3 separate regions of the Homo sapiens genome follow, and regions 1 and 3 are each linked to region 2. Evidence: promoter capture Hi-C in 16 types of primary human blood cells and fetal thymus (Javierre and others, 2016). All regions are on one chromosome and are shown on one strand. Each heading gives the region's core, a stretch centred on a gene start or on the middle of the fragment in contact. The rest is flanking DNA. Distances are from core to core; before and after follow the strand shown.

The links. Contacts are between HindIII fragments. The CHiCAGO score rates a contact against its expected background, and 5 or more counts as called.
Region 1: a contact is called between a fragment that was not itself captured here and the fragment with the promoter of C1QBP in region 2, in 1 of 17 cell types (M0 macrophages). The highest score is 5.1, in M0 macrophages.
Region 3: the fragment with the promoter of PIMREG here is called in contact with the fragment with the promoter of C1QBP in region 2 in 5 of 17 cell types (M2 macrophages, M0 macrophages, M1 macrophages and 2 more); the score reaches 9.3 in M2 macrophages.

What each region holds. Positions count from the first base shown.
Region 1 is chr17:6,622,081-6,624,780 of GRCh38, forward strand. It overlaps KIAA0753, which reads right to left. Exons shown (of 19, transcript NM_014804.3): 4 at 2,675-2,700; 5 at 1,429-1,491; 6 at 802-1,017. Among named protein-coding and RNA genes, the nearest start is that of KIAA0753, 17 kb to the right of the region's middle. The HindIII fragment of the contact is 1,536 bases long and covers 683-2,218 here.
Region 2 is chr17:5,437,848-5,440,547 of GRCh38, forward strand. C1QBP (complement C1q binding protein) reads right to left here and starts at 1,308. Exons shown (of 6, transcript NM_001212.4): 1 at 995-1,308; 2 at 276-426. The coding sequence starts at 1,226. RefSeq lists silencers at 975-1,024, 1,135-1,304, 1,283-1,465 and an enhancer at 1,525-1,704. The HindIII fragment of the contact is 1,457 bases long and covers 416-1,872 here.
Region 3 is chr17:6,443,186-6,445,885 of GRCh38, forward strand. It overlaps PIMREG (PICALM interacting mitotic regulator), which reads left to right and starts at 1,270. Exons shown (of 6, transcript NM_019013.3): 1 at 1,270-1,303; 2 at 1,891-2,219. The coding sequence starts at 1,926. All of the region lies in intron 2 of LOC107985017 (a long non-coding RNA gene), which reads right to left. RefSeq lists silencers at 580-729, 960-1,209, 1,292-1,519 and an enhancer at 650-1,228. The HindIII fragment of the contact is 3,587 bases long and covers 1-2,518 here.

The DNA of each region.
Region 1 (2,700 bases), core at 201-2,700, 1.2 Mb after region 2:
TAACAGCTTACTCTGCCATGCTAACATAAAGATCACCTTTCTATTTGTGGATGAAAATGTATGGCGTAGGGGAACTAATACTAGCATGGGAGTCAGAAAATAGAATTTGATGCCTAGCTCTCAAGAAAAATAACTGTCATCTCTCCGATGTTTGCTTTTCTAAAAAAATTTAACCTGTACAACAGCAGTAAAACCCATTGCAAAGCATACTGCCATAGAAAGGGTCAAATGGCATAATTACATGGAAACACCATGCAAACTTCAGAGAGCTATAAAATTAATGTGTCTTTGTCACCAATGAAAACTAAGAACACTATCAATTCCTGTCTAATACATGCCAGCTGTGATTTCTAGACGTCTCTAGCTATATCACAAGATTTGAGGCTCTGATTCCATATACTGTACCTTTAAGTGTTTCTTCTTTTCCAAAATCCATCTAAATTAAACACTGATATTCTAATCTAAGAATGCTTTACTGGTTTCCTTTTCTATGCTAATAAATTTTTTTCTCAAATGGCATGGGCCAGGGAATGGGACATTCTGTTTAGTTAATGAACCTGGTTTAAAGTTGTTACATGTTTTATATTCAAGTTACCAATTTTCGAAGCAGTGAAATACGATAATACAGACTACACTGTAAAAATAGCAAAACAAAAAGAAGTGTTTCTTCTGCCCTCTGCAAAGCTTTAATTCACTAGGTAATGGCTTTGTCTTGTATTCTCCATAAATCCTAACGAAACTAGGTAATAGTAAGCATTACTTCCAATGCACCTCTAACAAAAATTGGAATTAATTCCATACCTCAATTTGTTGCAGAATATCTATAACCACATCAGGAACAGAAGGGTCTGCATCCAGCTTGACAGAACAAAGTGAAAGCTGGCGAATAAGGCTGCCCAGTTCCTTACACCGAGCAGGAAGTGGATGCTCCCCTCGGTCAGTAAACTGAGTGACAAACATCTGTAAGGCCCGAATGGCTCCTCGATGGGCAGCCGCCAGCTTAGACATTGCCCATGACTGGTAATAAACAAGATGAGAGAAGTTATTTCCATACTCAGAACTTGCTAACATTCACCCAACTTCTAAGAATATTTATAGCCTGTCTTCTTTCTGTATAAAGTGCTTTCTATTGTGAAAACTTTTTCATAGTAAAGGGAGTTGTAAAGTTTAAAGTTTTCTAGTGGCAGTCTTTTCCTTACTACTTCCAATTTTTTATACCAGCAGCAACAACAACAAAAATCTATTTTTTAGAACCTGTTCCTTAGAAGGCAACCATATTCAGAATATGTAAGGTGCTCACTCCCTCACTAACAGGTTTCTGCAAGTACTGAAAATAACATTAGTGCAGAGGGCCCTACACAATACTAACAAAACACTGGGAAATGTCATTTATAAGCAAGTATTGATCATAATTTAATTGCAGCATACCTTCTTAGTGTGTTTAATTTTATGTGGACTCAATTTATCCAATTCTTCCTGGATTTCTTTTACCTGTTTTGTAAAGGGGAAAAAAGAAAACTTCATACCTTTCCATTGATCTTTTTTGTAGAAAAGGATGCATCGATATATCTCCTCTTGTCCAAATATAACCATTATTAATTCAAGTCACTTGAAAATGAAAAAAAGGCTCTTCATTCATGCACCCAAAAAACAGTTACTGGTTTCCAGTTCAAGATAGTGAATAGGCAGTGTTCACCTTCCATCCCTTCGTCCCCAGTGTAATAGGAATTTAGCATGAAGGAGTGAAGGTGGAGGTGACTCTGGAAATGTAGGCGGGCCGGATCGTGAAGTCTTACATGCCACGCTGAAGAGTTTAGCTTTCATCCTCTAAGTTACAGAGAGCCACTAAAGTCTTTTAAGCAGAGGTCTGACATGGTAAGATTCATGTTTTAGAGCAATCTCTACGGCAGCAGTGTAGAATAAGAACTGAAATAGAACCCAAAAGAATACACTGCAAAACCTAACTCAGGCATTTTCTTTTAAATGAAAAAGTACAGCTTTTGGTTCAAGCAATAAAGGCTAACATGTGACTTCAGTGACCAGAAATGAGTAAAAGGCTTACTAATGTATAAGGCATGAAAGTCACAACAAACACTTTTTAAAAATCCATCACAATGTAAAGAACGTAAATGCCTGTGTATCCGCTACTAAAGATGTCCTCAAAGACACTTAACATGGTCTTTACTCTTTGCTGTTTACCAAATTATTTACTATTACAAGCTTCTATACATTATAAACATGAAATAGATGGGAAACTAACAAGGTCCCTTTCCTCTAAGACTGGGGTCCATAGCTAGGACCAAGGGTTCAGGGTAACTGATCCACCTGACTTCCCATGCAAAAATATGTGCTATATAATGTATAAGCATCTTGGGGGTGGGGAGGAGTGGCTTTTAATAGATTCTCAAAGGTCTATGACCTCATAAAGTCAAGAACCAGTTTAAGGAGTTTGGCGCCACACACACACACACACACACACACACACACACACGCAGATTACAAAAAGAAAGAGAATTATTTGCCCATGTGTTCAGGTAATTGAGCCTCACAAATCTGTCAGAACTCATATGGGATACTCTAGTGCTAATCTTTCTGAGACAAAAGGAAAACAGAAACTCTCTAAGGAAGCAGTACACAAGGCTGACTGCCCTACTTCTCCCTGAACTTTTCACACCTGCTGCTGGAGGACGTAGAGCATTC
Region 2 (2,700 bases), core at 58-2,557:
TTTTATCAGGGCTGTAAATCAGAGATCAAACTGATTCTGCCAGTACTTTTTTGCACTACATTTTTGTCTCCTTAGTAACCAGCCCACAGCAAATTTGTGTTCGGTGAATGGACTGCCTGGGGCTTACGAAGTTGTCCAAATGAATCCTTCACTCTCTTGAAACCCATTTATCAAAGTATCCACACCTGAACTCAAGGCTCTTCTGGGGATGACCCAGGATGGGTCCTGCAAGGTTAAGGGAGTTGCTGCCCTGGGATCCCCAGACCAGTACTTACTTTTCCCCGGCAACTTTCCGCACTAATTTCGCTTCTGTCCCATTCAGTTCCAGCTCCCAACCTCCAGACATCTTAGGGAGGGTTTTATGCTTCTGAATTTTTCTTTCCTCCTTAATTTCATCACTCAGGAAATCAACAAAAGCTTTGTCTCCTAGAAAAGAAATCCAGATACATAAAAAGGAAAGCCAGTTAGTCTAAAACATAAAACTATTACCCAGGTTATTGCAGCCAGAAACCTGGACTGTTTCTAATCTCTCTGCTATTACGGTTACTCTAGAAGCCTGTTTCCTTATCGGTAAAAATACCATAATAGTAGTAGGAAGCTGAGCCTGATTCTGGAAAAGTGATTTCCAACAATGAACGCATTACCACTTTCCGCTATAAACCAGGAGAATTTCCAATCCTCTTCCACTTGCCAAACGATATAACTATGCTATTTTCAACCACGACCATGGGCCTTCCCAAAGGTCCACTTTCGATAGAATAAGACTAAGGAAAAAGGTACCCTAGTATTTAATTTTATTCACCCCCTACCAAAAGAAAACGAAACTGCTGGATAGGGGAGGTGGGGGAAATATGATCATACGTGGGTTTAGCCCGCTGGTTGCCAATCAATGGAAAAATGTCCCAGACCTCAGAGGTCGGTTGCAGGCCCTATTCCTGGTCTACGTTTTCCCTCTGTTGAACGCAAACCACACCCCCGGCCCGCTAAACCTCACCGTCGGTGTGCAGCGAGCCGCAGCCACAGCCACAGGCGCAGGGTCCGCGAGGCCGCAGGAGGCCCGGCCGCCGCTCGGAACCTGCGCGCACGCTGAGCAGCCCGAAGGGCCGGGTGCACAGCCGGGGTGCCGGCTGCAGGAGCTGCCGGAAAGGCGAGGCGGGCGCGGCAGCGCGGAGGCCGGCGACGGAGGAGCCCAGCACACGGGGCACGCAGCGCAGCAGAGGCAGCATCGCGGAAACGACTGCGAACACGTGCAGATGCAAAGGACAACCCAGGCCTAGGCGCCCCGCGACCTGAGGCGCCGCCGGAAGCCCCGCCCCTGCCCGGAAGCGCTTCCCGCGCCGGCGCTCTGACGACCTAAGGCCAGCGGGCGGAATCGCGCCCTCTGCTGGAGACTCCGGTGCAGCCCGGGAAGCCTCGAATCCGGATTCCGGAGCTTTCTTGCTGCGCTGCCGAGTCCGCTGTCCGAAGCTGTTTAATTCCCTCTAGTGGCCGCTTACCCACTTTCCACCTGCTGTTCTCAAAGCACGCAAGGCTTTTGGGCTGCGTGGAATGCACTCTTGTCTCCCGCCAGCTCTCACCAGACCCTTCCACGGTCACTTTCCTCTAGGAGGCTGTGGTGTTATGATATATATATGTATTGGTTTTCATCCACAGTTCCTGGGTCGTAACTCCTATAGCCCTTGTTACAATGTTCTGTGATAATGTTGGGTGTGTTAGGCCTCAGGAAACAGACTCTCCCCTTCTCCTGCCCTCCTTTTACCTGCCCCAAAGCAGGACTCTAATCTCCTTCCACATTTCTGATTATGGGTCTTAAGTCCCTTCCCAGAGAAGGTCCCACCATATACCCTGGGGGAAGGGATGCTGATGTCCAGAAGCTTCCATAAAAACCCAAGAGGAGAGGGTTTGCAGAGCCTCTGACAGCTGAATACGTAGAGGTTCCTGGAGGGTGGTGGCCCAGGGTAGGCAAGGAACCTCGGAGCTTCTTCCCCATTCCCCACCCTGCTCATCTCATCTGTATCCTTGGTCATATCCTTTATATGAAACCGGTGAATGTGTTTCCCTGAGTTCTGTGAACTGCTCCAGTGAGTTAACATAATCCAAAGAGGGGGGTCGTGGGAACCCCAACTTGAAGCGGGTTGGTCGGAAGTTTCAGAGGCCCAGACTTGCCATTGCTGTCTGAAGGTGGGGGCGGTCTTGGGGACTGAGCCCTCAACCTATGGGATCTGACACTATCTCCAGGTAGATACTGTTGGGATTGAATTGGAGGACACCCAGCTGGTGTCTGCTGCTTAGTGTGGAGGGGAAAAACCCAAACCTTTGGCCACATAAGTCTTCTGTGTTGATTGTTGTGTTGTGAGAGCAAAGGAAAGTCTGAGGGTTTTCCTGAAAGAGGCCTTCTAGAACCTTTTTTTCCACCGGCTCGGAACTCATGCTTGTGCGCACCCAGCCCATATGCTTCATTCTCTTTTCAACAGGAACCTCCTAGCGTTGCTGCTTTAACCAGGTTAAACCCAACCAGACTGTGACATCCTCAAGGGCAGGATCCATGATTAATTTTTGTGACCTTCCCTCTCTGCACCTCCAACCTTGCATCCAAGTTCTAATGGAACATCATTTTTCTGGGGACAAGAAGCCAGCTTATATCATTTAGATAAGTCCAGAGGCTTCCATAAAAACCCGAGGACAGGGTTTGGAGAGCCT
Region 3 (2,700 bases), core at 20-2,519, 1.0 Mb after region 2:
GCAGGCACCTGTAATCCCAGCTACTAGGGAGGCTGAGGCAGGAGAATCGCTTGAACCTGGGAGGCGGAGGTTGCAGTGAGCCGAGATCATGCCATTGCACTCCAGCCTGGGCAACAAGAGTGAAATTCCGTCTCAAAAACAAACAAAAAATGCCACCGATATATGAATTTGGGCATTACATTTCCAACATGTGAAATTTGAGGGACACATTCAAACCATAGCAGAGGATCAAGTAAGTTAATAAACTGCAACACCGGTACCTGTGCATACTAAGTGCCATATACACGTTAATCATTATCATCATCCTTTCCTTGGAAATCACTGAGGCCAAAGGAGTGGGTGAGACCACCCAGAAACGGAGAGGGCTGAAGACAGAGTCTCAAGAAGCCATCATCTCAGGCTCTTGTGCGGAGAAGTAACAAAGAAACCAGCCGGGGGAGTGGGCAGCACTGCTCTGAGGTCACCGAAAGGAGAAAGATGAGCTGGAGAGAGCTTTATAATGGCTGCATTTGTTTGGATGCTAAGGAGAAGAGAGGCAGGCATTCCGCTGGAGAGAGGGAGGGATGCGTGGGGCAAGGCGGGGGCGGGGAGCCGGTGTAGACGGGTGGAGGGCAGACCGGTACTCTGGTCTATCCCCGCTTCCGGGACGCGTTTTCTAGGGAGGGCGGAGCGTGGATGGCGAGTATGGGGAACTCAGAGAGGGACAGTGTCTTGTCACAGGAAGGGAGGGTCAGGAGGGAAATTTGAAAGAAAACGTCTCTGGGAACCCAGGGCTCTGCACTGCCAGTCCCTGGCTCCTTCTGACAAAACCACTGAGCAAGAAGGAAAAGCCAGACCCCTTGGCAGGATGAGAGGGGTCTCTGCCCGCTGCCGGGCCTGGGGCCTGGGGCCTGAGCCAGGAGGCCTAGGTCCCAGGACCTCCGCCTCCACCCCATGGGTCAGAGCAGCCTGAACCCTGTGCGCGCTCCAGGGAGGGGACCCGGTGTGCGATGCGCGGGGGCTGGGCTAGCAAGGGCAGTGGCGCGAGCGGGACGCAGGATACAAAGCCCGGAGCCACGAGGCTGGCGGCGGGGCGGGGGCCGGAGCGATGAATGGGCACGGCCGGGCCAATCCAAGCGCAGCATTTGCAGCCGCGAGAGAGGGAGCCAATCGGATCCCCGGGGCGGTGGCGGTGGCGGGGGCGGGGACGGAACCAATCAGCTGTGAGGACGGGGCCGGGGGCGGAGCCGCGCAGAGTTTCAAATCGGCTGCGGTGGGCGAGGAGCAGCTGTGCTGCGGCTGTGCTCGGCCTTAGTGGTGTCGGGTGAGTGCGGGCTGGGCACAAGTTTCGCCCTTGTTGCCCAGGCTGGAGTGCAATGGCGCGATCTGGACTCAAAACAATTTTTTTGTTCGGAGGGGAGGGCATCAGGTTCTGTTCACAGGGGAGGGCATCAGGTTCGGACACGCACGGCCTGTGGGGTCGTCTGGGTACCACAAGAAGTCGGATCGAAATCGGGGCGTCTGGTGGGAAGGCCGGGGTCTGGGCGGGTGCGCGTTTGGTCTGGGCGAGCTGGTGAAGAAGATGGTGATCGTGTCCTGGGCCCAGCGCTGAAGCTCGGCTACGGCGTGTCTTGACCCTGCCTCCCCTCCTCGCCTGAGCCAGAGAGAGGAAGGAGGTTGGGATGAAAAGACAGCTGTTTTGGAAACTTGAAGGGCGGGACATCAGAAATGCTGCTGACCCGAGGCCCCTCTTCCAGGAAGCATCCTCCTTCCTGCACCCACACTTACCAACTCGCCCGCCCCCGCCACCCCGCTGCATCCCGTCTCTTCCCCTGTGTCCAGGGTCTCTGTGGGGCCTGGGAATGGGTATGGGGAATGCCTTGCTGATCTGCCTTTCGCCCTCCTCCCCAGGGTCTAGTGGACAGAGAAGACTCTTGGCCAGGCAGATGGCTTCTCGGTGGCAGAACATGGGGACCTCCGTGCGCCGGAGATCTCTCCAGCACCAGGAGCAGCTGGAGGACAGCAAGGAGCTGCAGCCTGTGGTCAGCCATCAGGAGACCTCTGTAGGGGCCCTGGGGTCCCTGTGCAGACAGTTCCAAAGGAGGCTGCCCCTGAGAGCCGTCAACCTCAACCTCCGCGCAGGGCCCTCCTGGAAACGCCTGGAAACCCCAGAGCCAGGTCAGCAGGGCCTCCAGGCTGCAGCTCGCTCAGCTAAGAGTGCTTTGGGTGCCGTGTCCCAGGTAATACTGACAACACTAATCATCTTTTTTATGGAGTGTTTCCTTGGTGCCAGGCAGTTCCTGCCCTCAAAGAGCCTCAAGAATATAGACTTCATGAAAACAGGGACGTTGGTTAGTTCACTGCTGTTTCCCCACCACCCCAGATAGTTCCTGGCACATATAGGTGCTCAACAAATAGTTGAATGAGTGAATGAAAGCATGTCTTGGAGGAAACAGATGCTCACAATACCAGGTGATAAGAGCTGTACGTGATAGGAAATTGCAAAGCAAGTGACCAATAGTGAGGCTCACCAAATGCAAGCTTAGTCGGTGAAGGCTTCCCAGAGGAGGTGATTCCAGAGTTCACCCAGGGAAGCAAAGGTCAAGGGGTATTTAGGGTAGGGGAAATAGTGCAAGTCCAGGCCTAGAGCTGAGGGAAAGCAAGGTGTACTGCCCACTCAGCTGTGTATCCCTGAGGAGAGCCAGAATTGTAGTCTGGGTA